Linked DNA regions of Homo sapiens: regions 2, 3, 4, 5 and 6 are each linked to region 1. Evidence: promoter capture Hi-C in 16 types of primary human blood cells and fetal thymus (Javierre and others, 2016). All regions are on one chromosome and are shown on one strand. The core of a region is centred on a gene start or on the middle of the fragment in contact, and the rest is flanking DNA. Distances in the headings are between cores, read along the strand shown. Region 1 holds the start of KLHDC9 (kelch domain containing 9). Region 2 overlaps SLAMF1 (signaling lymphocytic activation molecule family member 1). Region 3 has its middle 19 kb from the start of SLAMF1. Region 4 has its middle 18 kb from the start of SLAMF7. Region 5 overlaps LY9 (lymphocyte antigen 9). Region 6 has its middle 6.2 kb from the start of CFAP126.

Region 1 (4,196 bases), core at 191-2,690:
TCACGAGTATCATAGATGTAGAGATCATTGCAGATGGTGTCTCTAGCTCTGGTCAGAGTTTCTCCACCAAACAGCACAGCAAAGGGCCCGACCACAGAACATGAGTGATGCCGTAGTCCATGGGGCCCCTTCTGGGACCCCTGCCCACTGCTCACAAGCCTTGCAAGCTGTTCCATCAAATGAGGAGCAACAGGTGGTTCCTCCTTGGGGAGAAAGAAAGGACTGTCCGAAGAGACCTGGGCATCACAATTTTAGCCTCTTCCCATCCTAAACAAGATGTGTGAGGAGCTAATACCTTAATTTTCCCATGACTCCAATGCCCAGCTACTTCTGGTTCAGCTAAGTTGCAACCTCCAAAGAGCAATAGCTGATGACCTGGATGGGGTCCAGGAGTTTGGAGCAGGGCCGCACAGTGACCTGAGCGTGAGGCTGTGTGGCAGCCTTCTTGCTTGTAGCTGTGGACATGCAGAAATTCAGGGCTGAGTGGGTTTTCTGGAAAATGTAAGTGCCACCGCCCTTGCCAAGGATGGATGGAGAAGAGGCATGGGGCAGTGCGGTAGGTGGGATAAGAGGGAGGGTAATACTGTAGAGAGCTCAGCTAGCTTAAACATGGTAGGTTCCCCTGGAAGGAGGGTGCTAGAGTGAGGAGGTGGATAAATTGCCTGAGAAATCTGCTTAGGCTTTTGTTTTTCGAGAGTGTGGATGAGAGTGAAAGGTTTTGGGCGGAGGGTGCCATACCAATAGGTGCGGGCGCTGGGGTCCAGCCTTAATGTGTAGATGCTTCCATAGCGTCGCTGAGTGTGGATACCGCCCTCCCGGCCAGCCACCTGCAGCTCTCGGTCAGAGATTCGGGTGCAGGTGTGACTACTGAGGCCGGCGGGGGGGCAGTCACCAGGGGTCCCTGTCCACGCCTCCCACACACCGCGCTCTGTGTCCAGTGCGGTCACTGTGGCCAAGCGGCGAGACCCGTCCCAGCCGCCCACCACGCAGAGCCAACGCCCGTCCACGGGTGCCGCGTCGTGGTGACTGCGCGGGGGGCTGCCCCGGGCTCCCAATCGTACGGCCTGGCCCCTAGCTGGGTCGAAAACCACCGTATCGCTGCTGGGCTCTCTCGCTCCTCCTGCTAGGAGACCACCTACGAGATAGAACCGTCCCCGCAGTTCGGTGCATGAATGGAAAGCTCTAGCCAAAAGCGCGTCCCGCGCCACTGGCCTCCAGGCCCAGCCTGAGCCTGCGGCCCGACCCGGGGGCACGGCCACCGCCATGGGCCCCGGGGAGAGGGAGGGCGGTGGGGTCTGCGGCTTGGAACGAGCCCCTACATGGCAGGCCAGGCACCTCGCCTTCCGCGGGCTTCCCCGGGAACCTCCCCCTACCGGACGCCAGCCGGGGTTCCCACCTCAAGTCCCGGCTTTCTCTCCGTGGTCGCCCAGCAACCACTGCAGCGGCTGCAGCGCGACCGCTGCAAACCGAAGGTCGCAAAGCAGCAGTTACCGTGGAGACAGGACACCTGGGTGGCTATCGGGAACCGTATGGTGGTGCCACCAAGGCTACGGGAGCTGTATCAGGTCAATAAAAATCCTGCAAGATTGTTAACCTCAGAAAGTCGGAGGACAGTCGGGTCCTTAGAATAAACCCCTGTGATCTCCGCTGTGAACTGATTTGCGATTTTGACATTTGAGGTGCAGGTGCTGCTCCACTAGGGCCGGGAGGGATCATTTGGCTTCAGGGTTTCTTACTCGGGCTAACCACCCCAGGGATGAGCAAGGAAGGAGAAGCAAAAGTCAGAGGGTGGGGAAGTGAAAGTGGACTGACCACTGGCCCGAGAGACAGGAGACCTGGGTTCTAGTCCCAACTATGCCCCTGACCCTCAAAGGCATTGTTTCTCTCTAGGCCTTCTCAGTTTTGTCATTCATCAAATAGGCTGTTCGTTTATTCCCAAAGGCTTGAAGGTCCCGATTGATTGGGTGGGAGAGTCCTTTCAGCTCTGGCCACTAGAGGGTAGCAGAACCCAGTCTCTCAGGTGACACACACACACACACACACACACACACACACACACACACAGAGAGAGAGAGAGAGAGAGAGAGAGAGAGAGAGAGAGAGAGAGAGAGATAGAGAGAGAGAGAGAACCCACGCAGCCTTAGAAGGGTGAAGTGGGGGAAGAGTGAGAAAATGAGAAAAACAGACTCCTACCCTTCCCTGATATCTTTTATTTAAGCCAGTTTCCAGATATTAACTCTGTCCCCCAGGACCAAGTGATAACTGAAGAGGCCCAGATGCAAGCTTTCTGCTTTCAGCTGAAGGAGGAAATACAGACAGAATTTTCCTCCCAACACAGCTGGTGTGGGGCAAAAACAGGATCTGTGTCCTCTGGGACTGGGCTGTAAGTGGGAATGATGACTGCTACTTGTGGCCTTTGGTTTCTACACATCACCTTGCTCCCCATCATACCTGAGATACTGAGACCATAGAAAGTGGCCAGGCAGGAGAATCACTTGAGGCCAGGAGTTCAGGAGTTCAAGACCAGCCTGGGTAACATAGTGAGACCCTGGCGAAAGAAAGAAAGAAAAAAAGAAAAGAAATAAAGAAAGGAAGAAAGGAGACAGTGGCCAGGGCTGCAGTGAGGATGGGCATGTAATGCAGGGTCTGATAGCACAGCAGGGCTTTCCCCTCCTCTTCCCAACTCTTGGTCCTCAGAGAACACAGCATGGGGATGGCATGGGCAGGAAAGGCACAGTTACAGAGATTGGAAGATTACCAGGACCTGTTCCCCACCTGTACCTTAAAGCCAAGATTCAACAATAGCTTTGAAAGTCTCTGCCCTCCCAACTATAGCTTTCCCTGAGTATGACAGGCAGTATTCTCAGTTTTCCAAAATCATGGTAAGAATCTCTAAAAAATCACTAACTTTTACTGTCCTTGGCTGAAATTTAAAAGTCAGTCTTTTCCCTCAGGCTTCTTTCTCACTGGCTAACCTCCCAACAGCTGGATTCAGATCTGTCATACTCCTAGGATTAGGCAAGGGCTTGCCTCAGGGGTGGGGCAATTTTGCTTAAACCTTATTGGCCTATATGTCCATTTTAGGCTCTTGCTTTTGCCTAAGTCTTGGCTGTTCTGTTAGACTTACTTTCTGCCTTTCCTGGATAGAAATGGGAACTCCCCACCCCACGGGCCTTTCCAGCTCCTCTCTCCCAGCTTCCTCTCTGACTCTGAGTCCTTAGCAGTAGGCATCTTAGTTAGACATAGAGCTTGAACCTCACATACTCCTTGGCTGTACCCTCTCCAGTTCTGTACCTAGATGCTTCCAGTTCCTCCTAATAGCTGGAAGCATCTGTCCATTGCTTTGCCATCCCAAGACCCTGGGAGAGGAACTGCCTAGGACTCCTACCTTCTTAGGTTAGTTTGAACCAAATCCATATTTTGGAGGAGGGAGAAAAGAAGCCAGAAAGAGAGAAACAGAGAGAGGAAGAAAGCAAACCAGCCAACCTGGACTTGTATGACACATGCTTCACACCGCAGGACAGCATCTGCAGTGGTCTATAATGACCTTGTCAATGATACACAAACTGAAAGGGCATTAAGATAAGTGAAAGGGGGAACTGAGAGAAAATTGTGAGAGACAGGGAAAAGGGCAGCCAGGGCTGTGAACCTGCTTTCACCTGCTAATAATATCCAGGGACAACCTCTGTCCAGAAATGAGAGCAGGGACTGGATATCCTGAAAGTCTCGTAATCCTGATGTGATCCCCTGATGTTGGCTTTGTCTCAGTTGGCCAAGAGTCTATATGATCTCTAGCAAGCAAGCACCCAGCTTCCTACCTAGCCTTAGATGTCTATCCTAGCCCCAAATCTACGCCCCCTTGCCTCAAACTTTCACAAAGCTCTTACTCTATCTTCTCCCTTCCTTAACCCCATTTTCTGACCCTGGAACCATCTCTGGTTCTTAGCATTATTCGGTACATACAGAAAACCAACAATTGGGCTGGGTGTGGTGGCTCACGCCTATAATCCCAACACTTTGGGAAGCCAAGGTGGGTGGATCACTTGAGGCCAGGAGTTCAAGACCAGCCTGGCCAACATGGTGAAACCCCATCTCTACTAAAAATAAAAAATAAAAAATTCACCAGCCGTGGTGGTGCATGCCTGTAGTCCCAGCTACTCTGGAGGCTGAGGCAAGAGAATCGCTTGAACCTGGGA
Region 2 (4,196 bases), core at 870-3,369, 480 kb after region 1:
CTTGATCCTCATAACACTGAGCTGATGACTGATTTCATTCTCAAGTAGATCAGTGTCATCTACACACAACCTTCTTAGAAAAGCCCTTACCTCAGCACTCTGATGTTGGTTTTGCATATATAAAAAAATCTAGATCATAGCACAGCGACCTACTTGTGTCTCATTTCCTCCATCTAAGAGTTAGCCAGGTAGGAGGGATGGGTGATTCAGATAGAAATTAGGTTGACAGCCTATGGGGCTCGGGGTAGGGCAATCACATTTAGCTCATACTATAAGGAAATAGTGAGATGACCCAGGATGAGAAAACTGAACTTAACTTATCCACATTAACCTACCTAGTAAAATTGCTGGGATCCTACGCCATACTCTTTCCTCAACCACACTTGGCTTATCACATGGTTGTGCTCTAAGGGAATAGTGCTCCCCATCCCACAATTCCCCACTACCTTCCCCAACACACATACCCATCCTCACCTCAACCCCATTCACCATTTGTCCCTTGTAAGTTAGCAACACACAAAACTGCCTCAAACTTGCGGTAAAATTTATATTTAGTTGCTGCACCTTTCATAAAACCTTGCTAAAGAAATTATATTGGCAGCTTCTAATGCTATAATCATCAGAATGCAGCCTGACGCTGAAGGCTTTTCAATTTCATGACTCTTTGGCAATTTCATGTCCAGGAGAATACACTGATAAAGAATGTGGGTATAGGCATTAGACAAACTTACATTCAGATGCAGATTTTGCTACTGACAAGCTGTGTGATCAAATGACTTAACTTCTCGTCTGCAAAACAGGGGTAATACTATGTACTTCATGGTATTGTGGTGGAGATTGGTATCAATACACAGAAAACACTGAACACAGTGGTTCCCATCGATGGGTGATAGATAGATAGATACATAGACAGATAGATACATAGACAGATAGACAGATCTCTTAGTGTAGATGAATTAAAATGGCAATGTGTAAGTGCTATGGCCAGGAGAAGCTGCACTGGAAGCATCTGGAAACAATACCTAGAACAGATTGAAAATATTTTAAGTCATGGTAACATAAGACTTTATGCTTCAGGTAAAAGCTGAAAAGGATATTAGATACTCTATGCCCTCATTTTACAGTTATGGTAAGAGAAAAGACCCATTGAGATGACGTGATTTGTCCAATGCCACACAGCTAATGATGGCTACAATGTAGATGTCCTAATTTTAAGGCCAAGACTTTTTCCTTAGAGCCTAAGACCTTGCTGACTTGGAGCCGAGTTAAGCTTACTCCTAAAAACCTGTTCTTGCACTGGGGAAAATAACCTGAGACTAAATTATCTTGGTCCAATGGTCCTTTTAAGCAGCAACAATCAACCTCACCTCTTCCATCTGTCTGACCATTTAGGACTGTCCTTCCAGTTCTACATTTGACTCTGAGCTGACCTGCAAGACTGAAAGTCTTTGAGGACTGTAGTCTGTTCTCTACTCTATTTGTAGCCACTACAGCACCTAGGAGAGTGCTGGGCAGGCATGTCTTACTTTGCAAACACTCGTGGGGACTAACTTGAACCTCCTCTGCTACCTCCAACTGCTTCTTGAGTCCTCCCCTCCATTTTACACACACACACACACACACACACACACACACGCACTCACGCACACTCCTCAGTCAGGATCAACTCTGACCAAAAAAGCGAAGTTGAAACCACTAGGCACACCGTGCTCATACCCACACACAAAAAATCCCATGTTGACTTTCCTTGAATTCCTGGAACTTCATCAGTGTCTGCCCCACATTTCCTCCCCAAGACTCACACCCTCACGCAGCACATTCCACCATGCTCACCACATACACACTGGGCCTTTCCCTTCCAAAGAAAAATGTGCCTCTCCTAAAAATGCTATTTCCTCAGAGATGTGCCTTTTTTTTTTTTTTTTTTTTTTTGAGATAGATTCTTGCTCTGTCACTCAGGCTGGAGTGCAATGGCATGATCTCGGCTCACTGCAACCTCTGTCTCCTGGGCTCAAGCAGTTCTTCTGTCTCAGCCTCCTGAGTAGCTGAAATTATAAGCGCGTGCCACCATGCCTGGCTAATTTTTGTATTTTTAGTAGAGACAGGGTTTCCCCATGTTGGCCAGGCTGGTCTCAAACTCCTGACCTCGTGATCTGCCCACCTCAGCCTCCCATAGTGCTGTGATTATAGGCGTGAGCCACTGCACCCAGCCCAGTTTTTTAAGAGAATAAATTAACTGGTGTTAAAATAAGTCTACCTTAAAGGCTGTGATTTTCTGGGTCCAGCCTCCATTGCCTCTGCCTGGACTTTGCAATAATCCCATAATAAACCTCCATCCTTCAGTCTGCCACTTTCCCACCATCCTTACTGCTGCATGATGTATACAAAGGATACTGTGCAACTTTAGAAAGAATGAGATAGGTCTACTGTGCTAACATGAAAAATGTCCTCAATACATTTTAAGTGAAAAGATCAAGTTACAGAGAAGTGTGTGCAGAATGACACCTCTTGTGTGGAAAAAAGTCTATATAAGTATAGCAAATATCCAAAACTGCATTGTCTAATATGGTAGTCACTAGCCACATGTGGCTTTTTAAATTTAAATTAATTTGAATTAAATAAAATTTAAAATTCAGTGACATTAGTCACAGTTCAGGTGCTCCATAGCCCCGTGTCTGTAAGCTGTATTAGACACTGCAGATATGGAACATTTCCATCATCTCAGAAAGTTCTGTTGCACAGAGCTGATCTACAGGGATATACATCAAACTTTTAAAAATGGTTTCTTCTTTTTTTTCCCACTTCTTTTCACAGGTATTGAAAAATACGGTTTCTTTTGGGAATGAAATTGGGTTGGTTAATGGAAGAAGGGGATTTATACTTTTTACTTTATACTTTATATATTTCTTCACAATTTTTATTTTATGATGAGAATAAATTACTCCTATAATTTAAAAAGAAAGCTTTTTAAAATTGGCTAAAAATTAAAATATTCTGCAACTTATTAATTTCCAGAGACCCTAGGCCCTGAGCAAAATTTCCAGATGGTGGGCAACAGAATGACATTGTTGCTTTATTTTCTAAATAGTCCCAGGTGGAACATCCCTCTTACACGTCCCCCCGCCCTTACCTCCCACACATCAATTCCCCCAGAAATAGGGAGGTGAGAAAGCTGTGAGTGAAGCAACATACTACCAGCTGGAAAATACAAAAGAGGTATAAACAACTAGCCCTGCCCTCAAAGAACTTAGAATCCTATTAGGAGACCAGATATGCACATTGAGCAACAGAGATTAAAGTAATTGAATGGTACACCAATGAGAAAAACACCTAATGCGTATTGGGCATTTGTTATGCACCAGGCAGTGTTCTAAACACTTTACAAGTGGTATCTCATTTAATTATCACAACAGCCCCGTGAGGCAGGTATTTCAAATCCCATTTCACAGATAGGCCTAGAGTGATCAAGTAACTAACCTAAGACAATATGACAAATGTGCAGGGGGGCTGGGACTCAGGGCTTTGTTTCCATTGTGCCCTTGGGGAAAGTGGGTATGCAAAGGACAGTAAAGACCAGGTCTGAGTAAGGAGCTCCTGCTGGGGACCAGAGGGAGATAACCATTATGGTTTCTTTTCACCAGGTAAAACGAACCATTACCAGACAACAGTGGAAAAAAAAAGCCTTACGATCTATGCCCAAGTCCAGAAACCAGGTGTAAGTTCTATATTTTGTTTGAGATGAACCTGTCATGTTTCCTAGAGTATTCCTGGCCAGTCTACCTTGCCTGTTGGACATTCACAGTTTTCCATCCAGAGCAGAGGAAGGTAGGGAACAGGAGTCAAGAACAAGAGTTCTCCTAAAGTCACTAAACGTCAGTGTTTGAAATAATGGGCAACACTGGATAATTTTCTGGTCATGAGTCTTCACAGGAAAAAAATGAAGAAGCTGGAAATACATACTGTATGACTCTTTCCAGCTCTGGCATTGTAGGAGTCTAGGTTCCATGTTAGTCAATTATTTCCTTTTCTAGGGAAAAGAGTGCAGGCTTGAGGAGAGAGGAGGTTTGGAAAAGCTATTGTGTGACATGTTGGACTGATCCAAGTTTAGGATTTACTAAGTGCAAAAGTGACAAGGAAGGTAGGATCTTCAAAATTCTAGCTAGAGTGTGGTTAAAGAGATGAAAGATGAGATGGAA
Region 3 (4,196 bases), core at 1,116-3,615, 430 kb after region 1:
GAGGATCACTTGACCTCAAGAGTTCAAGACCAGCAACGTAGTGAGACCTTGTTTCTACCAAAAAATTTAAAAAATTAGCCAGGTGTGGTGGCTCATGCCTGTAGTCCCAGCTACTTTGGTGGCTGAGGTAGGAGGATTGCTTGAACCTAGGAGATCAAGGCTGCAGTGAGCTGTGATTGTGCCACTGTACTCCAGCCTGAGTGACACAGTGAGACCCTGTCTTGAAAGAAAGAAAGAAAGAAAGAAAGAAAATAAACTATAAAAAGAAGAACTAAGTTCATTAAGAAACTATAAAAAGAAGAATAAACTAAGCTCAAAGCAAGCAAGAGGGAGAAAATAATAAAGATAAAAATGGAAAGAAATGAAGGAGAGAATACAAAAATAAGAGAAAAACAAATTTAAAGTTTGGTTATTTGAAAAGATCAGCAAAACTGACAAATGTTTAGGTAGACTGATAAAATGAAAAACGGAGAAGACTCAAAGGACCAAAATCAAGAATTAAAAGGGGATATTACTATTGACTTTAAAGGAATAAAAATGATTACAAGGGGGATAGTATGAACAATTGTATGGAAATAAATTAGACGAAATGGAAAAATTTCAAGAATCACACAGACTACCAAAACTGACTAGAGAAGACAGATGCGATAGATCAGATAGATAAAGGGAGGGTTCTTGCTTGCAATAGAATGCCAAATATGGAGTGAGGTGCTAAAGTGAAGAAAGTTATTATTTTGTAACTATCACAATTAAGACAGGCTCAGGCAAAAATTATCAATGGATGCTAAATCTCAGAGGAAATTTTGATGAGGAGTAAGATGTCTGCATGGCCTTCCACTGTATGCCAACACATAGTTATTAGTTAAAATCAAAAAAGATAACTATACAATAGAGAAATCTGGCAATCTGTTGGCAATATATTGGCCAGGTGATTAAAATTAACATTATCGATGAGAAGACATCAAGGGTCTCTAGATGTGATACCTTGAGGGTACAATGTCACTTGTGTAGTACCTAGTCTGGGAATGCATAATGTGAATCTAATCATAAGGAAATACCAAAAAACCCCAAGTGAGGAATTTGCTATTAAAAAAGAGAGGCTGTAATCCCAGGACTTTGGGAGGCTGAGGCAGGCGGATCATGAGGTCAGGAGTTTGAGACCAGCCTGACCAACATGGTGAAACCCCATCTCTACTAAAAATACAAATACAAAAAAATTAGCTGGGTGTGGTGGTGCATGCCAGCTACTCAGGAGGCTGAGGCAGAAGAATCGTTTGAACCCGGGAGGTGGAGATTGCAGTGAGCCGAGATTGTACCACTGCACTCCAGCCTGGGTGACAGAGCAAGACTCCACCTCAAGAAAAAAAAAAAAAAAGGGAAAGGGTGGGAAGACTGCATTCTTCAAATATATCCATGTCATAAAGGAGAAGATATAGCTGTGGAAATGTTACAGTTGAAGGGTACTAAAGAGATACAACAACTAAATGCAATACCTAATACTGGACTGGATCCTGACCTGGAGGGAAAATTATGGTTACAAAGGGTCAACCGACAAAATTGAAATGCAAACAGTAGGTTAGACAAGAATATTGTTATCAATGTAAAATTTACTTAAGTGATAACTATATTGTAGTTGTGTCAGAAATTATCCTAATTCTTTACACTGATGTATTTAAGATAAAGAGCCATGCCATATGCAACCTACCCTATAATAGTTCAAATAGAGACAGAAAGAGAGAGAGAGAGAGAACTAGCTAATATTAAAGCAAAATGGGCAAAACATTACAGAGAGGTATTCACAGTCACAGCCAACTTGTAGACCCCTCCCTGCAGGATATTTATAAGCGTGTTCTTTGTACTATTATTAATAATAATTTTTTCTTGCAGCTCTTTTGACATTATTTTCAAATAAAAAGTTAACTACACAGATTAATGAAAGGTCTGCAATACTTATTTCCCCTTGATGGTCCTTCAAGATGCTGAGGGTCTGTTCTGCATTTACCACATCCTCTTCTTTCCTTGTATAGGCCTCTCCTTTTATAGACCTGTGAGTTCTCAGAGTACATTATCATTTTCAACCTTGAATTCCCATTGAAACCCTTGAATTCCCATTGAATCATCTGCCAAAGACGACAGTTTATTTTTCTGTTGATCCAATCAAGAAAAGGAGAAAGCTTCCATGAATAATAAACAGATGGGGACTACAAGTTCCTGTGACTCTGCCGGGCTCTGCCCAATGTGTCTCTCCATTCTGGCTCCCAGGCTACAGGAGCACAGCCTCTGTCAGTCTTGCTATCTCTGGCAGAGGACAGCAACACAGAGCAGAAGGACCTCTTTAAAGCCTAGGTTTAATAATGACAACATTTTCATGCTTAAATCCTTCAAGGATAGGCTCGTTGGAGAGCCTACAGGGTTCTACTGATCCTTATGTGGCTTGGTTTCTGTGATTTTCTCCTGTCCAATTTCTAGTTTGGCCCCTCCTTTGCACTGAATGCTGCAACCTTCCTGAACTGCTAGCAGTTCCCCGAATTTACTCAATGCCTTTGCTCAAGCTTTTACACTTCCTGGAATCCCCTCCCACTCCTCGTTGACCTAACAAACTCCCACTCATTTGTTAAGACTCAAACCAATTGTTGCCTCTCCAAAGTCCAAGAACCACTTCTTAGGAATAGGACTCTCTCCCTGGTCCATAATCACCGTTTCCCACCCTCTTTGTGATAGGAATGATTACTACAAAGAAGACTTAGAAATCGTCAGCAGGGAAGCCCATAAAATTTGCATTTCCTAATTTTCTGTAATCTTGGTGGAGGACAGGAAGGAAGTGGCCAGGCCAAGGCCGTCTGGCAAGTTACCAGCAGGGCTGAGGCTGGAAGTCAAATACACATTCTCCTTTCTTTGTTGATACTACTGGGTACTCCCTGGGGCTTGACCCATTGCCCTTCTTATGTTCGAAAATGTCTTCTGGACTCTGTCAAACCCTAGACAACTCAATTTTGCAGGACCTTCTAGGGGGGCAATGTTGGAGGGCTTGTTGGCTCCTAGAGAGAGCACTGGAATGAGCATGTTTGGTTGGTCTTCAAGCTTATACCTAGTACCCAGAACCACATTTCAAGCTTCTGGGAGGTTGTGTGGTATAGGGGAAGGAGCATGACCTTTGGAGCCAGACAGCCTTGAGTTTGAGTTCCAGAACCGTCATTTACCAGCTTCTGAACCTCAGGAAAAGTAAACTTTCTAAACCTCGGTTTCCGTATGTGGATGATTTTTAAAATCAGGATTAAATGAGATAACCTCAATAAATCATTCCACATAAAGTCTGCCATACAGTAAGTGCTCAATAAGTATTAGTTGCCTTCCTCTGTCCCAAACTTCTCCTTCCTCTCTTCTGGGCTGGCAACTCTAATTTTAATGAATTAAGACAAGATCTCTTAGCTTAAGTTTCCCCAAGTGTAAAATAAGAGGGAAATGGTTGTATAACTCATATGACCCAGATCACGGCTTCTTTCTATTTTGCTTTTATCAATCTTCTCAATCAGGTCTGTGTACTGAGCACAAAGGCTGCCCATGGGTGTGACATGAACAACGGAGGTTTTGCTCTCAGAGGAAGTGGAGAGGGGTTGGGAGGTACCTGGGGAAATGCAAATTTCATGGCTAAGTAGGACTTCCCTAGGTCTGCTGACTTCCAAGATGCTTCTGAGGCATAATTCCAGTGATGATGTGAAGGTGTGGGGCCAGTTCTACCCCCACCAAAAAAGGCCACAATCAGTATATTCATTCCACAAACATTTTTAGCACTTGCTGTATGCCAGGCATTGTTAGATTGGGGAACCATGAAGGTAAATAGAGCATAATGAAACTCAATCAGGATATGGGTGGATTGACCTAAACCCAAGAGATTTGGTTTCTGGTTACGGCTTTTCAAAAACTAGCCATATGGTAAGTCCCTTAGAAGTTTTAGTCTCTAAGTATTAGCTTTCTTGGGGTGAAATGAAGGAGTTGAAAATATGACTTCTATATTTGTTTGCTTTCCTTCAGATTATACTTCTCCTCTCAAAGTCAGCTCTGTGTTTTCAAATAGCCCCTGGAAATCTCCATATGCATGAACCGTAAACATTTAAACTGACCATATCCCAAGCCAACAAATAATCTTATACCCCTTGCTCTCAATTTTGCCCCTAAGTTATCTCCACCTCTTATAC
Region 4 (4,196 bases), core at 923-3,422, 340 kb after region 1:
GAATTTCATGTGTCAACTTGACTGGGTTAAGGGATGCTCAGATAATTGGTAAAATATTATTTCTGGGTGTGTCTATGATGATGTTTCCAGAAGAGATTTATTTTTGAATCAGTAGACTGAGTAAAGATCACCCTTACCAATGTGGGTGAGCACCACCCAATCAGTTGAGGGCCTAAATAGAACAAAAAAGGCAGAGGAAGGCCAGATGCAGTGGTGCACACTTGTAATCCCAGCCACTTGGGAGGCTGAGGCAGGAGGATCACCTGAGCTCAGGAGTTTGAGGCCAGCCTGGGCAACATACAACTCCATGTCAAACAAAACAAAACAAAAAGGTAAAACAAACAAACAAACAAACAAAAAAAACCCCCAAAAAAACAAAAACAGAGAAAGAGCAAATTTGGTCTCTCTGCTTGAGCTGAGACATGCATTTTTCTTCTGCCCTTGGGCACTGGTAGTCTCATTTCTCTGGCTTTCTGGGTCATATTGAGAGTTACACCTTTGGCTCCCCAATTCTCAGGCCTTCCAAGTCATGAACTGAATTACTCCTCAGGCTTTCTTGGTTCTCCAGCCGCAGACAGAAGATCATGAGACCTCTTGGCCTTCCTAATGCGTGAGCCAATTCCTATAATAAGTCTCCTTTTATATATATTTACAAATAATCTATTGGTTCTATTTCTCAGGAAAACCATGAGTAATACAACCCCCTATATGTCTTATATGCCTTTATTTTCTTACCTACCATTTTAACTTGTAATGTCTGTTGATATCCCTGTCTCCCACTTGATTGTGAGCTCTTAGAAGTATGGGGAGCACATTGTAGACGCATAATAAGTTTTAATTGCAGGAAAAAATAACTTTTATAATTAGTAAAGACAAGCAGTACCAGCATTTATTTTAAAATAATAAATTTTAAATAAATTAATCAATTAATTAATACTGCCTAGAGCAGTAATACATATGAGCCGAACAAAACAAAACAAAACAAAACAAAACAAAACAACCCACAAAACCCAATTAGACAAAAGACAATCTTGGTCTCAACTACCTCATCTATAAAATGGTTATGTTTGTTATGAAGATTAAATAAATGTACATATGTATATACATGCACACATATATATATGTATTATTTAGAACAATGATTGGCAATTGTGACTGTACTAAACATTAAATATTATAAATGATCATGTTATGGTTTATCAACTCTTCCCTGTTGCTGGCTATGTTCTTGACAGATTGCAATAAAGAGTATGCTTAGGACTATAGTCAGAACTCCAAACATCTTTAAAGTCTGTCTACAAGTACATGAACTGAGGAGGCTGGAAGTTCCTCCTTCCATCTTCTTGGGATGAAATGAGAGGGAGGTGGGCCGGGCTGCATCCTGGGCTGCAGTCTGTGATAGGCTGTCCCCACCAGGAGGGTCTTGCTCATGGGTCTCCTCATGGAGGAGGATGATCCCCATGGGCCTGGATCCTCCTCATGGGCCTGGATATCTCTGAACATATGATGAACATTGCTTATGAAAAATTATTTGTAGGAAAATTGTGAGGCCTAAGAATGTTATTTTCTTTTAGTGATGGTCTTTGTTTGCTTCTGTAAGGTACTTGTGGGCACTCGTAAGCTTGGATCTCTTTAATCTAATACCAGTTTTGAGATTTTCTTGGCCCCATAGATGAATTAAAACTGGTGTACTTCTTGTTTACAAGAAGGATAAGTCTCCTAGGGTAAGTCTTTTGGGGTCCCAAGTCAAAAAGATGAGGGATTTACCAGTTCTCTAACCTTGGTAGCCCCAGACTCCAAACTTTGTCCTTCTAGTCCCAAGAGGCTATCAAAAGCAAAGGCCCATCTTCCCACCTCCTTTTCCAGATCAGCACACATTCCCAAGACAGTACTGAAAGCAGGAACCTCCTTATCCCTTAGATACCTCTTGAGAGCATCCTTCCCTCTCTCTGCATCCTACTATGCTTGTCCAACCTACCATCACCTCTCTCCTGGATAACGGTAAGAGCCTTCTGACTCAGTTTGCCTACATCCAGTCTTGACCCCCTACAATCTGTTTCCCATACTGCAACTAATGAAATTTTAAAAGTGCAACTCTCTCTGCTGGCCACACTGACTTTCGTTCTTTTAGGTCCTCTCACCACAAGGCCTTTGCACCTCTGGCTAGAAGGGTTTTATTTTCCCTTCCCACTTCTTGTAAGTAGCTCCTACTCATCTTCCGATCTCAGCTCAGTCTTCATCACTTTGGAGATACTGTCTCTGACCACAGGAAAATTTGCCATTCTTGGCTCCACACACCTCTCTTTCATAGCAGTCATCACTGCAACCATGTTATTTAAAGGATATTTGAGTGTTGGCCTCTGTCATTAGAATGTAAGCACCCTGAGGGCAGAGACCTCTGTTGTGGCCCACTGCTGTATTCCCTGAGTTCAGCATAATGTCCAGCACTTACTGGTGCTCAATAAGTACTGCTGAATGAATAAATGAATGAATGCATACATGATCAAATGAATGAGTGAAAGCCTTACTGAAATGGTACAGATACCTTCTTTACTTTCCACCAAGGTTTCAATGTTTACGAATTTGTTATTTGCACCTCACAAGTTGCAAACCACACAGTTCTGGAGGCTGCATGTAATGGGGCTATGAGGTGGTGTGACTTCTCACCCTGAAGAGCTGGTGGTTTCCTTTGCCTACTGGTTGAACTCATGAGGGGAAGCTTCTTTCTGCAACTAGCTTTGGGACAGAATTTATTGAGTGTCCAGAGACCAGATCTATTGGTCTCCCTAGGTCCTGTTTCAGTCACTGGTTTAAAAAACCCCAAAGTATGATTAACCCTAATTATTTATCATCTGAATGGGTTCTGAGGAGAGAGGGGAAGGCAGAACAGATGCATCCTCAGTCCCAGCATCCCCCTCTCCACGCCTCTGTCTTCACACACTGTGAAGCTCCCCTCAGCCTCCAGCAGCCCTCTCTGAGGGAAAGTCATCTTCTCCTCTGTCATTATGTGGAGGGTTTCTCCTTTCTCCCCACCCATTCTCACTCGAGGAGGTCTTTCCATCCTCCCCCACACCCTTACCATGAGGGTCTCAGACTTTCCCCTCAACCCCACGTAGTGAGTAGTGCCTCGTTTTTCTCACTGAGCACCTATTTAAAATTTCCTCTACTCTATTATGCAATACATACTTTCTCATTGAGGAATATTCAGAAAATGAATGAAAATAGGAAAAAACCAAGCCACCTAAGCTTTCACCCTCCCTAAACAACTGGTGTTACTATTTTGATGTTTTTTCTTCCAAATTTTTCCCTGTAGAGATTTTTTCTAAAACACAGCTGTAATCATATAGCACATTAAATTTGCATTCTACTTTTTATATTTGTGATGTCATAACATTTTCTAACTTGAAAACCCATAGTTGTTGTGTTGTTGTTGTTTTGTGAGTCAGAGTCTCACTCTGTTGCCCAGGCTGGAGTGCAGTAGCACAATTATAGCTCACTGCAGCCTCAACCTACCAGGCTCAAGCGACCCTCCCTCTTCAGCTCCTTCCTGAGTAGCTGGGACTACAGGCATGCACCACCATGCCTGGCTAATTTTTGTATTTTTTTGTAGAGATGGGGCTTTGCTAAGTTGCCTAGGGTGGTCTTGAACTCCTGAGGTCAAGTGATCCTCCTACTTCAGCCTCCCAAAGTGCTGGGATTACCGACATGAGCCACCACTCCTGGCCAACCCATAGTTTTTTTTAAACAATTTTTTTTTTTTTTTGAGACAGAATCTCACTCTATCATCCAGGCTGGAGTGCAGTGGTGCGATCTCGGCTCACTGCAACCTCCACCTCCCGGGTTCAAGAGATCCTCCTGCCTCAGCCTCCCAAGTAGCTGGGACCACAGGCACATGCTAAAAATTTGTTATTTTTAATTTTATTTTTGATTCAGAAGCTACATGTGTAGGTTACACAGGTATATTTCATGATGCTGAGTATAACCCATAATTCTTTTTTTGAGATGGAGTCTTGCTCTGTCGCCTAGGCTGGAGTGCAGTGGCGCGATCTTGGCTCACTGCAACCTCCCCGTCCTGGGTTCAAGCAATTCTCCTCCCTCTGCCTCCCAAGAAGCTGGGATTACAGGGGCTCACCACCATGCCCGGCTAATATTTTTTGTATTTTTAGTAGAGACGGGGTTTCATCATGTTGGCCAGG
Region 5 (4,196 bases), core at 1,267-3,766, 290 kb after region 1:
CCTAGTCACATAAGCGTGAAAAGATAGGTGCACAAGAATATTCATTGCAGCATTGTTTATAAGAGGAAATATTGGAAACAATATTTCTATAAGCAGAAACAATATTTCTACAAGTAGGAGACCCGTTACATGAATTATGGCGATTATATAACATGTAAGGAATTTACGGGTGTGTCTTCTAATTTTGACATCTGTGTATATGGAATTAGGTGAAAAACGATCAATATAGTAGTCATATTTATCCTAGAGAGAGAAATTCCTGGAGAAAAAGAATGTCTGTTTTTAAAAATAAAAGATCAAGAGAAGGGGCTTCGAAATGGCTGACTAGAAGCATTTAATGCCTACCTCCTCTACTTAGAAGAACAAAAGTAGTATACAAACAGTCATATTTCAAATACATTTTCCAAGGGAGAATGCTGGAATTCAACAGAGATGTGACAGGAAACACTAAAAGCAGGGAAGGAGAAGGAACAGAGACAGCCTCCCTGGCTGAGATCTGCTGGGAGCTGGGAGTGATTTCCCAATAGAGGTGAGCGAGAGACCTCCAGTGGCCCACATCCCACTGCAGAATCATGCAGTCCTGGCCACATGAGACCCCTTTGACCCTCCCAATCCCTGAAACTACCATAGGGAGCTGCTGGGAGACTGTGGGGCGGAACTGCTCCAGGGAGGGAGCTCCTGCTGGGTTCCATACTCTTTCTGAGACCTCTGCAGTTATAGTAAGGGACCATTTTCAAACTGAGCCTTTGGCAGAATGCACGCTGTCCTGGGGCCCAACAGTGCTGGGTCTGAGGTGTTAGGAAAACTAAAACTGTTGCTGCCAAGACTAGAGTATGGATTGGGAGCACTCTGCAGGTAGAGCTAAGTAGCAAGAGAGGTGTGGGCTGCAGTTTCTGGTCCTAGGAAGTGAATGCTGCTGTGACTGAGACTGGGTAAAGTAGTGGGCTGTGAGCTGCTGCTGCAACTTGGTTGCAAGCTGGGCAAAAGCTCCTGCAGCTAGTGCTGGCTTGGGGGAAGCCCTCCTAGGACTGAGGCTGAGAGGGATGCATATTCCCCATCTGCCATCCAAGGCTGTGGCCACTGAACCTGGCCTCACCTTCTCCAGTGGCAGGGCCTCACGGTGGCGGCTACTGTCCTCACCTGAGCACTCTGCCTGGGGCCTGAGGATGGCCCTGCTTCCACATACCATAGCTGGTGTTTGCTTTCACCACTGGGGGGCCTGAGTGCAAGCCCACTCAGCCTGGCTTCCCCCTTCCCCCTTGGAAAGAGAACACATAGGCCAGCATCTTGGGGATTGCCCAACCCAATCCACTGCCTTGGGCACCTGAGCATTTTTCCACAGGGGCCTAGGGTGGGCCTAACTCCCAGCCACTACCACCTACCTGCAAGTGCCACCTGTGGTCCTGGAGACTGGTCTGCCCAGGCCATTGCAGCCACCATCAACATCAATGCACACTGCTTGGGACCCAGAGAATCATCCCACTACTGTCATTCCCCATGCCACACTGACTGCCAGGGGGCCTGAGAGCCTGCTCACCACCCTTCAGTCCACTGCTGCCATTATCGGTATCTGAGCAAGCCACCTGGAGACCTAAAAATCGACCTGCTGATAAGCATAAACACAAGTGACAGCATACACTGCCTTGAGGCACAAAGATAGGTATGCTGCCACCACTGTGGCCTGATGACTGGCCCACTTGACATTTCAATCCTCAGCGCAACTTCACCACAGCCTCTGCTAATAAACACACTCTGACCTACTGAGGAAATCACAGATACCACTAATGTTATTTACAGCCAAATAAATCATACAAATACTATACTACTGCATGCACCCAGAATCAAAGCCAGAGTGCCCTACCCCAACAACACAATAGACACATATTCAGGAAAAAGACCTCCCCATGAAAGTAACTTAAAAAAATAAGAAGAAGCTCAGTGAGATACAAGAGAATTCTGAAAAACAATACAAAGAAATCAGAAAAACAATTTTGGATATGAATGACAAATTAACCAAAGAGATAGATATTTAAAAAACAGAATGAATAGAATTCTGGAATTGAAGATTTCACTGAAGGAAATACAAAATATACTTGAAAGCTTCAACAATAAACTAGATTAGGCTGAAGAAAGAATCTCACAACTTGAAGACAGGTCTTTTGAAATAATTCAGCCAAACAAAAAATAAATAAATAAAAAGAATAAAAAAGAATGAGCTAAACCTTTGTTACATTTGGGACTTCATAAAGTGATAAAATATTCAAATTATTTCATCCCTGAGGGCAAAGAGACAAAGAGCTGATTAGAAAATGTATTTAATGAAACAATAGCAGAAAACTCCCCAAGTCTAGCAAGACTCTTAGACATCCAGATACAGGAGGCTCAGCAATTCCCAGGAAAATACAATGCAAAAAGATCTCCATGACACATCACAGTCAAACTATCTAAAGTCAAAGAGTAAATCATAAAAACAGTAAGAGAAAAACATCTAGCCACCTATAAATGAAAGCCCAGCAGGCTAATGGTGGATTCCTCAGCAGAAACTTTGCAGGCCAGAAGAAAATGGAATAATATATTCAAAGAGTCAACCAAAAATACTATATCTGGGAAAATTATTCTTCATAAAAAAGGAGAAATAGCGTTTCCCAGACAAGCAAATGCTGAGAGAATTTGTTACCACTAGATGGGGTCTTACAAGAAATGCTCAAGGGAATCCTAAACCCAGAAGCAAAAGATGACATTTACCATGATGGAAACACACAGAAGTATAAAACTCATTTGTAAAGCAATCACACAAAGGGTGAAGAGAAAGGACTTGAATGATGTCACTACAGATACCCACCAAACCACAGTGACAAACAATAAGAGAGAAAGAAACAAAGAATATATGAGACAACCAGAAAATAATTAACAGTATACAGGAAAAAGCTTCACATATCAATAGTAACTCTGAATGTAAATGGATTAAATTATCCATTTAAAAGATGTAGAATGGTGGAATGGATTTAAAAACATGATCCATCTATATGTTAATTACATGAAAATTCACCTTAACAGTAAAGATATATAGACTACAAGTAAAGAAATGGAAAAACAATTCCATGCAAATGGAAACCAAAAGCAAGCAGGAATAGCTAGCTATATTTATATCAAATAAACAAACTTTAAGTCAAAAACAGTAAAAAAAAAAAAAAAAAAAAAAGACAAAGAATGCCATTATGTAATGATGAAGGGATCAATCCAGCAAGAGGATATAACAACTCTAAATGTATATGCACCCAACACTGGAGCACCCAAATTCATAAAGCAAATATTACCAGAGAGAGAGTGAGAGTAAGAGTGTGTGTGTGTGTGTGTGTGTGTGTGTGTGTGTGTGTGTGAGACAGAGAGAGAGAGACTGCAACAGAATAGTAGTGGAGGACTTCAGCACTCCACTCTCAGCATTAGACAGAGCTTCTAGATGGAAAATCAACAAAGAAACATTGGATTTAAATTGGAGTTTGGACCAAATGGACCTAACAGATATTTACAGAACATTCTATCCAACAGTTGCAGAATATACATTCTTTTCATTAGTAGATGAAGCATTCTCCAGGATAAACTATTTGTTAGACCACAGTACAAGTCTCAACAAATTTTAAAAAATTGAAATCATATCAAATATCTTTTCAATCCCAATGGAATAAAACTAGAAATCAATATTAACAGGAACTTTGGAAATGATACAAATACATGGAAATTAAACAACATGCTCCTGACCATTGGGTCAACAAAGAAATTAAGATGGAAATTTAAAAAAAGTTCTTGAAACAAATGAAAAAAAAAACACAACATACCAAAAGCTATGGAGTACAGCAAAAGCAGTGCTGAGGGAAGTTTATAGAAATAAATGCCTACATGAAAAATGTATAAAGATCACAAATTAATAATGTAACAATGAACTTTAAGGAGCTAGAAAAGCAAGAACAAACTAAGCCCAAAATTAGTAGAAGAAAAGAAATAATAAATATCAGAGCAAAACTCGATGAAGTAGGGACTAAAAAAATGCAAAGAATCAATGAAAGAAAAAGTTAGCTCTTTGAAAAGACAGACAAAATTAATAACCTGCTAGCTAGGCTAATTAAGAAAAGAAGAAAGAAGACCCAAATAAACAAAATCAGAAAAAGTGGAGACATTACAACTGACATTACAGGAAT
Region 6 (4,196 bases), core at 1,005-3,504, 280 kb before region 1:
TAAATCTACTTAAATATATTTATTATGTTGTTTAGGTCTTCTGTATCCTAACTTATTGTTCACTTGACCTTTCTAGATCTGAGGGATTTGTTAGTCCTCCTATTATAGTGTGCTTCTATTTCTCCTTGTATAAAATGTCATTATCTTTATAAAAATTGTGGCTAAAATTTCTTTCTCTTTTCTCATTAAAAGTAATGCTTTTTAGTCAGAATTCTACTTTGATGGATAATTACAACTGCAACCCCTGCTTACATTTAGGAATAAATTCTGGTACATCTCTTAGTCATTTATTTAGGCTTCCTGAAACTCTTCTTAGATGTAGCTCTTTTATATAGCACAGTGTTGGACTTTGCTTTGTCAATGTGAAAACTATTTTCTTTTAATAGGTAGGTAAACCCATTCTTTCTCTCTTTCTTTATTTAAACCCTTTCTTTCTTTCTTTTTGATACGGAGTCTCGCTCTGTCGCCCAGGCTGGACTAAAGCGGCACGATCTCGGCTGACTGCAACCTCCGCCTCCCGGATTCAAGTAATTCTCCTGCCTCAGCCTCCCAAGTAGCTGGGACTACAGGCGTGTGCCACCACAGCTGGCTAGTTTTTGTATTTTTAGTAGAGACGGGGTTTCACCATGCTGCCCAGGCTGGTCTTGAACTCCTGACCTCAAGTGATCCGCTGCCTCAGCCTCCCAAAAAGCTGGGATTACAGGCGTGAGCCACCGTGCCCAGCCCCCTAATCTCTCTTTACTGATAGTTGTACTATATTTACAAGATTGCCAAGAAATGTGGAAAAGTTAATGAATACATATTAATGGTTTATTAATATATTTAAATACATGATAAAATAATAGTATCTATTTCCAGACTTCATGGTCAACCTGTATATTGTTAAAGCACATAGCCAAGATATCCTATACTGGTGCCATTATAACCATCATTTATTCTTAGTTATGCAAGTAAACAAACTTAATTCACACCACTAGTGAGAGATACTGATGTCTTTTCAGTCATTTTGGTTGTTTAAAGCTTGTTCTTTGGTCTTTTTGTTTTGTTTTAAGAAATAGTGTTATAGGCCAGGCACAGTGGCTCACGCCTGTAATCCAACGACTTTGGGAGGCCAAGGCAGGTGGATCACCTGACGTCAGGAGTTCCAGACCAGCCTGGCCAACATGGCGAAACCCTGTCTCTACTAAAAATACTAAAATTAGCAGGGCATGCTGGTGTGTGCCTATAATCCCAGCTATGGAGGGGGGCTGAAGCAGGAGGATCACTTGAACCTGGGAGGCGGAGGTTGCAGTGAGCTGAGATGGTGCCACTGCACTCCAGCCTGGGCAACAGAGCAAGATTCTGTCTCAAAAAAAAAAAAAAAAAAAAAGGAATGAAAGAAAAGAAAAAGAAATAGTGTTAAATAGCTCTATGAATGCTGCAGAGAGGGCTACCCCATAGGCAGTGTGTGGGGAGTATACAAAGCTTGTTCTTTGGCTCCTCAGGAAGGGGATCTTATCAAGAATATTATTCTTTTGTGGTATTGTCAGTGGAAAGGAGAGATGTAACAGCAGTCTCCGAGAGAGGGAGCCTTAGTCTCAGGAAAGAAAACTGGATCAGCTATTTTAACTCTATAGAGAAGTTTTGAAACTATAGCTTTTACATTTGTAGCCATGCATCTCTTCAGGGGTCAGAACTACGCCTTCATTTCCTATAAGGAAATCTACAAAAACCAGGGTGTTTGAATAGTTCAAAATTTGGCCAGTAGCTTGGTTGGATGAAATCCTGTTAGCCCAGGAAATGGGGCAAAAGCCAGGTCTCCTATCCAAGACCCATCAACACCTGACCCAGTGAGGTGACATGGAGGGCACCTTGGAGCTACTTAGAAGAAACCTTAGTAGAGAGCTGATGGTATAACTAGAGACAGTGATTCAGGTGGTTACACTGTGTAATAGATGAGATAAATGCCCCATTTTTACTATGAAGGGGTTACTAATAATTTTTTCTGGTTTTAAAAATTGCCATGGGAGGCCGGGCGCGGTGGCTCACGCCTGTAATCCCAGCACTTTGGGAGGCTGAGGTGGGCGGATCAACTGAGGTCAGGCATTCGAGACCAGCCTGACCAACATGGAGAAACCCTGTCTCTACTAAAAATACAAAATTAGCCGGGTGTGGTGGTGCATGCCTAAAATCTCAGCTACTCGGGAGGCTGAGGCAGGAGAATCGCTCGCTTGAACCCGGGAGGCGGAGGTTGCGGTGAGCCGAGATCGCACATTGCACTCCAGCCTGGGCAACAAGAGCGAAACTCCATCTCAAAAAAAAAAAAAAAAAGAAAAGAAAAGAATAAAGGCAGTGAGAAACAGAGATGATAAAGAAGAAACAGAAAATCTTTCTGATCATGTTCTATCTTTGAAATTCTAGTATCCTTTGAAGCCCAAACTATACTTCCTACCTTTGGAATCTGTTAAATACTCCTATTAATTATAATTTCCCCACTTCCCCTTTTTTGTTTAAGGTAACCTGAATGAGTACTTCTTACTTGGCAGTCTTAAGCCAATAATAATGCTAAAATAATTGAGCATTCATTATGCATCTTGCACCCTATTAGCATGTTACATATATTTAATGCTCAAAACTAAGATTATCCCCATTTTACATGTAAGGGTACTGAGACCCAGAAAGATTAACTTGTGTAAGGCCACACATTTAGGCAAAGCCAGAATTTAATCCAGGCAATGTGACTCTAGTACTTATGCTGGTGGTTGCCTTCACGTAGGTCCAATGTACACATCGCCTATAGAGTACAGGTTAAACTTGTACTTCAATAGCAGATAATCTCAGTCCAAATAAAAGATTTCCTAATGGTTTAGTTTCAGTCATCAAAGAATTTAAGTGAATGGAAAAAAGTATCTTAAGGCATACGTAAAGGATGGGGCCTTTAAAGAGCCCTTCCAACTTTGGAAGAAGTAAATCTGGTCCTAGTAAAAGACCATCTGCTGTACCTGAAGTCAACCAGTTCATCTGAAGAAAGGCTAAAATTCAATACACTTTTATTAGAAGCTTAAAATTGCCTGTTACTACTGATATTACAATTTCCTAGTGAAATCTTTTTTTTGTTGAGACGGAGTCTCGCTCTGTCGCCCAGGCTGGAGTGCAGTGGCGCGATCTCGGCTCACTGCCAGCTCCACCTCCCGGGTTCACGCCATTCTCCTGCCTCAGCCTCCCGAGTAGCTGGGACTACAGGCACCCCCCACCACGCCGGGCTAATTTTTTGTATTTTTAGCAGAGACGGAGTTTCACCGTGTTAGCCAGCATGCTCTCGATTTCCTGACCTTGTGATCCACCCCCCTGGGCCTCCCAAAGTGCTGGGATTACAGGCCTGAGCCACCGCGCCCGGCCTGAAATCTTAAATATTAGAATTCACATAGGATCAAGCCAGGACTCCACCTTGGATTTTTTTTTTTTTTTTTTTAGACGGAGTCTCACTCTGTCGCCAGGCTGGAGCACAGTGGCGCAATCTCGGCTCACTGCAACCTCCGCCTCCCGGGTTCAAGCGATTCTTCTGCCTCAGCCTCTGGAGTAGCTGGGACTACAGGCGCGCGCCACTACGCCCAGCTAATTTTTGTATTTTTAGTAGAGACGGGGTTTCACCATGTTGGCCAGGATGGTCTCCATCTCTTGATCTCGTGATCCTCCCGTCTCAGCCTCTCAAAGTACTGGGATTACAGGCGTGAGTCACCGCGCCTGGCCTTTTTTTTTCTTTTTTTTGAGATGGAGTCTCACTCTGTCGCCCGGGGGATGGAGTGCAGTGGCGCAATCTCGGCTCACTGCAACCTCCACCTCCCGGGTTCAAGCGATTCTCTTGCCTCAGCCTCCCGAGTAGCTGGGACTACAGGCACGTGTCACCATGCCCAGCTAATTTTTGTATTTTTAGTAGAAACAGAGTTTCGCCATGTTGGTCAGGCTGGTCTCGAACTTCTGTCCTCAACTGTTCCACCTGCCTCAGCCTCCGAAAGTGCTAGGATTACACGTGTGAGCCACTGTGCCCAGCGTGTACCTTGGATTTTAGATTACAGAGAGACAAATAATCTAAAACGATCACCTTTCTCTCTAGAACAGTGGGTTAGAGGATCCAGAAACAGACCCAAATATGTTAGGGAATACATTAAAAATGGCATTTCAAATCAGTAGAGGAAAAGAAAACTTATTAATGATGC

Evidence for each region. The method cuts DNA at HindIII sites, captures the fragments that hold promoters and counts their contacts. A CHiCAGO score of 5 or more calls a contact.
Region 2: a fragment that was not itself captured here is called in contact with the fragment with the promoter of KLHDC9 in region 1 in 1 of 17 cell types (total B cells); the score reaches 5.1 in total B cells.
Region 3: a contact is called between a fragment that was not itself captured here and the fragment with the promoter of KLHDC9 in region 1, in 3 of 17 cell types (naive B cells, M2 macrophages and erythroblasts). The highest score is 6.0, in naive B cells.
Region 4: a contact is called between a fragment that was not itself captured here and the fragment with the promoter of KLHDC9 in region 1, in 1 of 17 cell types (naive B cells). The highest score is 5.6, in naive B cells.
Region 5: a contact is called between a fragment that was not itself captured here and the fragment with the promoter of KLHDC9 in region 1, in 2 of 17 cell types (total CD8 T cells and activated CD4 T cells). The highest score is 5.8, in total CD8 T cells.
Region 6: a contact is called between a fragment that was not itself captured here and the fragment with the promoter of KLHDC9 in region 1, in 3 of 17 cell types (total B cells, naive B cells and megakaryocytes). The highest score is 5.6, in total B cells.

Annotation. Positions count from the first base shown.
Region 1 is chr1:161,095,605-161,099,800 of GRCh38, reverse strand. It overlaps KLHDC9 (kelch domain containing 9), which reads right to left and starts at 1,440. Exons shown (of 4, transcript NM_152366.5): 1 at 739-1,440; 2 at 296-455; 3 at 5-203. The coding sequence starts at 1,265. RefSeq lists silencers at 1,017-1,066, 1,127-1,306. The HindIII fragment of the contact is 8,697 bases long and covers 1-2,285 here.
Region 2 is chr1:160,619,295-160,623,490 of GRCh38, reverse strand. It overlaps SLAMF1 (signaling lymphocytic activation molecule family member 1), which reads left to right. Exons shown (of 7, transcript NM_003037.5): 5 at 3,642-3,715. Among named protein-coding and RNA genes, the nearest start is that of SLAMF1, 26 kb to the left of the region's middle. The HindIII fragment of the contact is 1,693 bases long and covers 1,273-2,965 here.
Region 3 is chr1:160,664,323-160,668,518 of GRCh38, reverse strand. No RefSeq gene overlaps it. Among named protein-coding and RNA genes, the nearest start is that of SLAMF1, 19 kb to the right of the region's middle. RefSeq lists enhancers at 2,464-3,025, 3,039-3,098. The HindIII fragment of the contact is 378 bases long and covers 2,177-2,554 here.
Region 4 is chr1:160,755,018-160,759,213 of GRCh38, reverse strand. No RefSeq gene overlaps it. Among named protein-coding and RNA genes, the nearest start is that of SLAMF7, 18 kb to the right of the region's middle. RefSeq lists a silencer at 2,053-2,122 and an enhancer at 3,673-3,722. The HindIII fragment of the contact is 1,098 bases long and covers 1,624-2,721 here.
Region 5 is chr1:160,804,926-160,809,121 of GRCh38, reverse strand. All of the region lies in intron 2 of LY9 (lymphocyte antigen 9), which reads right to left. Among named protein-coding and RNA genes, the nearest start is that of LY9, 11 kb to the right of the region's middle. The HindIII fragment of the contact is 828 bases long and covers 2,103-2,930 here.
Region 6 is chr1:161,371,933-161,376,128 of GRCh38, reverse strand. No RefSeq gene overlaps it. Among named protein-coding and RNA genes, the nearest start is that of CFAP126, 6.2 kb to the right of the region's middle. The HindIII fragment of the contact is 1,575 bases long and covers 1,467-3,041 here.